Regions from separate parts of the Homo sapiens genome. Here region 2 is linked to region 1. Evidence: promoter capture Hi-C in human tissues and cell types (Jung and others, 2019). All regions are on one chromosome and are shown on one strand. The core of a region is centred on a gene start or on the middle of the fragment in contact, and the rest is flanking DNA. Distances in the headings are between cores, read along the strand shown.

Region 1 (4,989 bases), core at 1,543-4,042:
AGATCTCTGTAATGAAAACTATAAAACACTGATTAAAGACATTGATTAGGACACACAAAAAATGGAAAAACATTCCATGTTCATTAATTGGAAAAGTCAATATTGTTAAAATGTCCATACTCCCCAAAGCAATCTACAGATTCAATGCAATCCCTATAAAAATACCAATGACATTCTTCACAGAAATAGAAAAAAACAATCCTAAGATTTATATTGAACCACAAGAGACCAAGAATAGCCAAAGCTATCCTAAGCAAAAGAACAAAACTGGAGGAATTACATTACCTGACTTCAAATTATACTACAGAGCTATAGTAACCAAAACAGCATGCTACTGGCATAAAAATAGACACACAGATCAGTGAAACAGACTAGGGAATCCAGAAAGAAATCCACACACCTACAGTAAACTCATTTTTGACAAAGATGCCAAGAACATACACTGGGGAAAAGACAGTCTCTTCAATAAATGGTGTGGGGAAAACTGGATATACATATATAAAGGAATAAAACTAGACCCCTATCTCTCTCCATATACAAAATTCAAATCAAAATGGACTAAAGACTTAAATCTAAGACCTCAAACCATGAAACTACTACAAAAAACATTGGGGAAATCTCCAGGACATTGGTTGGGGTAAAAATTTCTTGAGCAATACCCAACAAGCACAGGCAACCAAAGCAAAAATGGACAAACGAGATCACATCAAGTTAAAAATCTTCTTTACAGCAAAGGATACAATTAACAAAGTTAAGAGAAAACCCACAGAATGGGAGAAAATATTTGCAAACTACCCATCAGACAAGGGATTAATAACCAGAATAAATAAAAAGCTCAAACAACTCTATAGAAAAAAAATCAAATAATCCAATCAAAGGATGGGCAAAAGATTTGAATAGACATTTCTCAAAAGACATACGAATGACAAACAGGCATATGAAAAGGTGTTTAACATCATTAATCATCAGAAAAATGCAAATCAAAACTACAATGGGATATCATCTTACCCAGTTAAAATGGCTTATGTCCAAAAGACAGGCTATAACAAATGCTGGTGGCAATGTGGAGAAAAGGAAACCCTTGTATATTTTTGATGAGAATGTAAATCAATACAACCACTATGGAGAACAGTTTGGAAGTTCCTCAAAAAACTAAAAATTGAGCTACCATATGATCTAGAATTCTACTGCTGGGTATATGCCTAAAAGAAAGAAAATCAGTATATCAAAGAAATATCTGCATGTGAATGTTTATTGCAGCACTGTTTACAATAGCTAAGATTTGGAAGCAACCTAAGTATGCATCAACAGATGAATGGGTAAAGAAAATGTGGTACATATACACAATGGAGAACTATTCAGCCATATTCAGTCACGTCCAACAACATGGATGGAACTGGAGATTATTACGTTAAGTGAATTGAGCTAGGCACAGAAAGGCAAGCATTGCATGTTTTCACTTATTTATGGGATCTAGAAATCAAAACAATTGAATTCATGGACAAAGAGAGTATAAGGATGGTTGCCAGAGGCTGGGAAGGGTGGTGGTGGGTGGGGTGGGGGATGGGAGATGGGGACAGTTAATGGGTACAAAAAATGTAGAAAGAATAAATAAGACCTACTATTTGATAGCACAACAGGGTGACTACAGTCAATAATAACTGTACATATTAAAATGACTTAGAACATACTTGGATTGTTTGCAACTCAGTGGATAAATGCTTGAGGGGATGGACACCCCATTCTTCATGATGTGCTCATTTCACATGGCATGTCTGTTTCAAAACATCTCCTGTACCCCATAAATACATACACCTACTATGTACCCACAAAAATTAAAAAACAAACAAACAAAAATCCAATCAAAAGACGTTCAGCTCAAAACAAAACCTCATGCATGTGTTACTCATAGGGAGAACCTTATATCATTAAGAAAAGGTTAAGTTACATTTAGTATAATTTATTTAAGAAAACAAGGAGGTTGGCCTGTTGTACCGCGGTGGCTCACGCCTGTAATCCTAGCACTTTTGGAGGCCGAGGTGGGCGGATCACGAGGTCAAGAGATCGAGACCACTCTGGGCAACATGGTGAAACCCCATCTCTACTAAAAATACAAAAATTAGCTGGGCATGGTGGCGGGCGTCTGTAGTCTCAGCTACTCGGGAGGCTGAGGCAGGAGAATCGCTTGAACCTGGGAGGCGGAGGTTGCAGTGAGCTGGGATCATGCCACTGCACTGTAGCCTGGGCGACAGACAGAAATTCAGTCTCAAAGAAAGAGAGAGAGAGAGAGAGAGGAAGGAAGGCAGGCAGGAAGGAAGCTTGTACAATGTTTCCTTCTCAAAGCAGACACTTGAACATATCTTAGGTTTCTGGTAACTAGTTTCAGCTGTCTCGATAGACCTGATAAGTCAGTATTTTAGTTAATATGTAGTAAAGTTCTGAGAGTACTCTAACCAACTTCCTTGTTTTTAACTCTCTCCCAGGGTATTTGTCTATTAATTTCAGCTTTGTTTGCTCTTAAATTTAAAAATATGTATTTGGCTTCTGAGTTCTGTTTTCTCTCTCAGTTGCATTGCTTGATTTGGGTGCCTCTATTTTTCCAATAATTCTTTATTATAATAGTGCTACTGTTTGCTAAAGCATACGTGGTCAAAACCCAATTCCCTGCAGAGCTGAAAAGAGCTCAGAGAAGTAAGGTGGTGGACGACCCACTGAAATGTTCCAGTTTCAGACTGCATGTGTCACACCCTTGCTGAAATACAATTCGTTTTCTTTAATTTCCATGTGAAGTGCACTTCTAAGAACTAACCTTTAGTCACTGGGTGACTTTATGGGAGTAAAAGGAAGCTGTTATGAAATAGCTCTTATGGAACTGTTACAAGCTTTCAAGCATTCAAAGGTCTAAATGAAAAAGGCTAAGTATTATTTCAAAAGGCAAGTATATCCTAATATAGCAAAACAAACAAAGCAAAATCCATCAGCTACTCCTCCAATTGAAGTGATGAAGCCCAAATAATTCATATAGCAAAATGGAGAAAATTAGACCGGCCATCTAAAAATCTGCCATTGGTGAAGTGATGAAGAACATTTACTGTCTTATTCCGAAGCTTGTCAATTTTGCAACTCTTGGCTGCCTATGGATTTCTGTGGTGCAGTGTACAGTTTTAAATAGCTGCCTAAAGTCGTGTGTAACTAATCTGGTAAGTCTCACAATCTAATATTTGTCTTTGCAGGAACTAGAACATGTAGCATTCAGCTTGTTATAACTGATAGAATTGTTTTCTCTTTATGAGGAGTTTTCTTATGAGAAGTGGTGGCAACAAGGCAAGATAGATTATTTTTTCTTAAATAAGTTAGGAGCCCTTATAATTGCAGAAGATAAAGCAGGCTATTTTATTTCTTTAGGGTATGTGGTCATATATTTTTTGGGCTAGAGGACTGGGTAAAGGAGGTTTAAATGGAATCAATTTTGCCAATTTTGCACACTTAAAAACTTTCTATTTAAACTTATTTATTACAAAGTCATTAGTAGTTGTCTTGAAACCTGAAATCGGTTTGGCCACAGGATAATGCCTGCTAATTCCAGCTGTGTAGGGAGCTGGATGAAAAAGGAAGCAGATACAGTTGCCATGTAAAATAATATTTTAAAGCAATAATTATTTGTACATTTCTTTATTTCTGTTTGTGCATTTATTATTTTAGTTAGTGAGTTTTTTATATGGAAATTCATGCTTTCATTCTCATTTCTGGGTGTCATCCCTTCTCTAACTATTGTACCATCTCTTTTCAGTTGTAATTTAGTTGTGCTTAAAACAGTCACTGAATTAACTTTAAAAACCAAGTACTCTATAGACAGAGAAAATGCACTCTTCCTGTCTAAAGACAAATAAAATATCATGATAGTTTGCATATGACCCTATCTATAGCCATACTTTTAAACATAATGCAAGTACTAAATATAGTATTCATTATATTATTCTAAAGTATTGGAGATAGAATTATGTGGCAGATTAAAAAGAAACTTGCACTTATACACTTTTGATTTAAACTGTAGTTTAAAACACTACTTAGGTTTACCATGGTTAGTAGCATTTTTTTAAAAGTTTAGTATTTTATATAAATCTTTGCCGAAGACTTCATTGCCTTTAATATAGAATTGCATGCTTTAGTTTTTTATATTTGTAACCCAAACTTAAAAATGGAAGAATGGAACTACTAAATGTTTCAACTACTGAATGGAAAACTAAATGTTCTAAAAAAGATTTTAACTTTTTTCTAATTATAATAAGAGTATACATTTTAAATAAAATATTTATAACATAGAGAACTACAGAAGAATAAAAAACTTCTAATTCTAGCCCTAGTAATCTTTTGATTGAATTTTCTTTTAGTATTTTTCCTCATATATATATATGTATACATATATATCTATAATTTACACCCAGCTATGCAACCAGCTTTTTCATTACATTGTATTGTGAGTTTTCCCCTAGACCCTGAGATTTTTTTAGAAACAGAATCTTTATTATCTTTAGAGTATTCCATTATATGAATGTACCACCATAATTTATTTGTTAATTTCCCTGCTACTGAAACTGATTTTAGTTGTTTCCAATATTGCAGTCTCCATTTTATTTTACTGTCGTTTTATTTATTCTTATCTTTTTGTGTGGGCTCCTTGCTTCCAGGGTTTGGCAGTAGGAATAGACAGTTTGTTCCTTTGTTGAGTTGCCTTCCGTTCACCACCTACAGAGAATGGCACAGCTGATGTGTGGCAACAGCAAGAGAGACACGGTCTGCCAATTTGACCAGTGAAAGTACTACATGTTCCCACATAGGGCCTGGAGGGACAAAAGTGAAGTGAATGTACAATTGAATGTAACCATGGTTCACAGGAGAGGATATACAAAGTGCTCAAGTTTATTATATTTTCTGCATCATTTTTAAAAACATGGACATTTACTCTGAAGGTCATCTATAATTTTATTG
Region 2 (4,524 bases), core at 810-3,309, 42 kb after region 1:
CAGATGTGATTTGTTGACTCATTATGTTTTTGTTGGTATGTATGAAAAATAACTGCTAATCATTCACTTTATTTTGAGACATGGATTGGTATAACAACAGCCTCTACTACAGTGACACGAAAGGCGACGTTTTTGTGTGGCTGCTGAATGGGACGGATATCTCAGAGAATTATCACCTACCCAGCATTGCAGGAGCAGGGGCTTTAGCTTTTGAGTGGCTGGGTCACTTTCTCTACTGGGCTGGAAAGACATATGTGGTGAGTTAAAGCATGGCATTCTGGATGCTCTAGAATGATACTTATCCACTTCAGTGACTTGCACACCAATTTCTTTTTTTTTTTTAAATACCTGTGCACCACTTATGCTATTATTTATTTAATGTTTATCTTTAAACCAAGTCACTTAAACATTTTTTTTTTCTTTTTTTGAGACACAATTTCACCCTGCTGCCCAGGCTGGAGTGCAGTGGCGCCATCTTGGCCTCTGCCTCCCGAGTAGCTGGAATTACAGGCATATGCCACCATGCCTGGCTACTTCTTGCATTTTCAGTGGAGATGGGGTTTCACCACGTTGGCCAGGCTGGTCTCGAACTCCTGACCTCAAGAGATCTGCCTGCCTCGGCCTCCCAAAGTGCTGGGATTACAGGCGTGAGCCACCGCTCCCGGCCTCATCTCACTTTTAAAATATGTTTTTTTGTAAATTAAATTTGTTATCACTATTTGTTGAATTAGGTATTTTTTCCCCAATAATAATTTAAATAAATACATGAAAATGCTCACCTGAGCGTTGGTTCTTGGCAGGAACATGGCATGCTCCAAAAGCATGATTCAAGGCAACTAAGTGAAGAGACTATTTTCAAAGGTGTGCACAGGGCTAGGGAAAATGAACAAATGATGGTGAGGCATCCTCACGGTTTACAAGTGTGCGAAGACATAAGTCTAGGTGTGAATAGGCAAGGGGAAGAAGTGGAAGAACCTGGTGAGGGCTGTAGCTGTAGGAGAGTAGCTGATATGGACTGTGACTTTAGGCACAGAAGCTGGCCACTATCAAGATGTATGGTCTGGCAAGGAGCCAGCTAAAGGAATAAGAACCCCAACCCCTCCTTCCTCCTGCCCTCTAATCTGCCAGTGCTTCCATTGGCTGAACCTCCCCAGAAGCCAGACAACAACCCTTCAGCCTAGCAGATAAAGTCCATAGATGTTGGCCTATGGGGGCACAGAGTAGGGTGGAGAAGGGTGGGAATTAGACCTAGAGGCAAAATAAAGACATCCAGCACACCTGTGGAGTGATATATTTTGAAGAGAAAGATGATGGCTAATGACAAGAACATTGGCCTGACAGATCAAGAAATAAGGTATTGAAATAATTTTTAATCAGGAAAGTACTTGCTGTCCATTTATTTATTTGTCCAGCAATCATTTATCTACTACCAATGCGTTGAAATCCTTGAAAGAAGGCAAAGTAGGGAATATAAAACAAATAGCCGACATGTCCCTGCTATTTTAAAAACAACTTTGTTGTGATATAATTCACATAACACAAAATTCATTCTTTTATTGTGTAGAATTCAGAGATTTTTTAGTGTGTCCATTGATGTACAGCCATCATCAGTTGTCCCTGCTCTTCTGAGGAGATAAAATACATATATAAAATAAAGAAGCATATGAAGCAATGTATTTAGAGACAAAGCAATATGGTACAATCTGAATTCATAAGTGCCAAAGATGTGCAAGCAGAATGAAATTGAGTGGGGTTAGTCAGAAAACACTCCCTCAAATAGGTTAGTTTAAAAATAGTTTTGAAAAAGGAAATGGAAGAGTGGACATAAAAACCAGTTTTAAGTATTTTCTCTATCTCTTATTAAAGTGTTTAACTCCAGGACAAATTGTTTAACTTTAATCCACTTTACCTGTGAAAAAATAGGGAATAGAAATCCTTCATAAGCTTAATGTGAGGATTACAGGAGTTTATATTTTTAAAGATAAAAAAGTACAGTGCCTGGCACATTATTGATAATCATGAAATATTAGGGAACTACACTGATAGAGAAGAGCAAGGAGAGATGTCATCATTTATAGGGACATAAACATCTTTTTTCGGGAGTCTAATCAAATATATTCCTATCCAGCAGTGTTCACATTGTCTGGATGTATAATTAGGAAAAGCAGTTATTTTTATGCAAAGTAAATTTAGTTCCCTTCTCTTTGGAGGCATGAAAACAGATAAGCCCCATGAGGGCAGGTGCCATGCCTGTTTGCTTGTTGCTGTGTTTCCAAGGCTTATTACACTACCCAGCACATAGTGCCAATCACTATTTGTGGTTGAATGAATGAATGATTAATCAAGCAATTTATTAATGATTGCAATAAATATTCAGAAATAATAATGTCACTTGAAAGCCATTAACTGGCCATACAATTATGTTTTTTAGATACAAAGGCAGTCTGTGTTGACGGGACACACAGACATTGTTACCCACGTGAAGCTATTGGTGAATGACATGGTGGTGGATTCAGTTGGTGGATATCTCTACTGGACCACACTCTATTCAGTGGAAAGCACCAGACTAAATGGGGAAAGTTCCCTTGTACTACAGACACAGCCTTGGTTTTCTGGGAAAAAGGTGACAAATTAAAAGATCTGATCATTTAGTAATACTGAATAGCTCTATATTTATGATAATACTTTCTCTCGCTTATTGTGAGTACTTAAAGCAGACTCCTAAAGGAAATAGTGTTTTGGTAAGATCTTGGTTTAACCAAGTTTTCTGTTATTTGAAAAAAAAGCGCCTTATTTGATGGTCACAATTGAAAGCCTTATTTGATGGTGATAAGTGATTATGTAAGTTCAAATGCACTATGGAGATTTTTTTTGTTTACTTTATTTTGAGTGAACCCAACTTAAAAGTATTTTAATTTATAACTGTTTTTATAGTCTTAAGGACTTCTGTTGAATATTTTAGAAGCTTTGAATCAGGTGGTGACTAGGCATTTTACTATTTTCAATCAGTTTTGGGCACTGACTGTTTTAAAAACTGTTTCTAAAAACTAGGCAAATGATTTCACTTCTCCGTGTTTCTTTCCTTATCTGAAAAATGGGACTGTTAACTATTATTCTACCTCCTAAGTTTTTTTTTATAAAGATTATATGAGAGTATTCATGAGGAGTGGGAATAGTTCCAGGTACAAAGTAAATGCTCCGTAGTTAAGCTCATATTATTATTACTCAACCTGCAAATACAGGAATGTTTCTAAAGCAAATGTTACTTTTACTTCCTCAGCTTTTACAAGCAATAACTATTTTTGTTGATTCTGTTTAGCTACCCACTAGGTATCCATCTAAGTTTCTAAATTTTAATTTTTTCTGACCATAATAGTGACATATTTCAACTGTGAAAAACTTGAAAATTGCAGAAATGCATTAAGAATAAATAAATTATTCACACCATTTCTACCTAATATATCCCTTAAGATTTTCTTATTTTAAGTCATTTTTTTCTGCAGAGATAAAATATACATAATACAGAATACCAGATGATTTTAAAAATGTATGTATATATATGAACTAATAGTTGAGTCACTTGATCTCCAATTCCAATAACATATATGGGCCATAATTCCTAGGATATTTAAAGAGACCTGATTTGCATTACATGGATTATAACACAGACATTTAAAAGAGATGGAAATTTATGTACCATATCCAAAGACAATCATTCTTGTCAAATAATAAAAAGGTCTCTTAATTCTATTTTGGAGTCACTTGAGTCTGAATACAAAGAAAGCATTTTTTTTTGTTTTTCAAAAAATATAATTGTTAGGGAAAAGCATTTTCATTTTTGTAAAAACATATTGATAATATTATCTCAAGAGTAACTTCTTCTCCACCTCAGGGACTTTGTCAGTAATCTTCCCAGTGTTCTGATATGGTTGTTTGAGTACTCTCACTAGCCAGGATAAAGCTCTGGTGTGACCTTGGGGACTTCCCCATAAATGAGTGAGTCATCTCAGCATGTTTGGGGGAAATTCATCCTTCTTACCCCTCTTTAAATCCCCCCTCCAAACGCTTATACACTGCAGATGGGGATGTAAATTAGTACAACCTCTATGGAAAACAGTGCAGAGATTTCTTAAAGAACTAATAGTATTTCTATCATTCGATCCAGCAATCCCACTACTGGGTATCTCCCCAAAGGAAAAGAAGTTATTATATCAAAAAGACACCTGCACACATATGTTTATGGCAGCACAATTTGCAATTGCAAAGATAGGGAACCAACCTAAGTGCCCATCAACTGATTAGTGGATGGATAAAGAAAATGTGGTATAAATACACCATAGAATACCACTCAGCCATAAAAAAAAGGAGGAAATAATGTCTTTTGCAGCAATTTGGATGGAGCTGGAGGCCATTATTCTAAGTAAAGTAACTCAGGAATGGCAAACCAAATACTATATGTTCTCACTTATAAGTGGGAGCTAAGCCATGGGTATGCAAAAGCATACAGAGTAATATAATAGACTT

The links. The method cuts DNA at HindIII sites, captures the fragments that hold promoters and counts their contacts. A contact is called where the count stands out against the background at its distance.
Region 2: a fragment that was not itself captured here is called in contact with the fragment with the promoter of ROS1 in region 1 in 1 of the 25 tissues and cell types used here (spleen).

The regions. Positions count from the first base shown.
Region 1 is chr6:117,423,745-117,428,733 of GRCh38, reverse strand. ROS1 (ROS proto-oncogene 1, receptor tyrosine kinase) reads left to right here and starts at 2,792. Exons shown (of 44, transcript NM_001378902.1): 1 at 2,792-3,200. The coding sequence starts at 3,078. The HindIII fragment of the contact is 9,117 bases long and covers 1-4,240 here.
Region 2 is chr6:117,381,416-117,385,939 of GRCh38, reverse strand. ROS1 (ROS proto-oncogene 1, receptor tyrosine kinase) reads left to right here. Exons shown (of 44, transcript NM_001378902.1): 16 at 79-257; 17 at 2,432-2,623. Among named protein-coding and RNA genes, the nearest start is that of ROS1, 42 kb to the left of the region's middle. The HindIII fragment of the contact is 5,252 bases long and covers 1-4,524 here.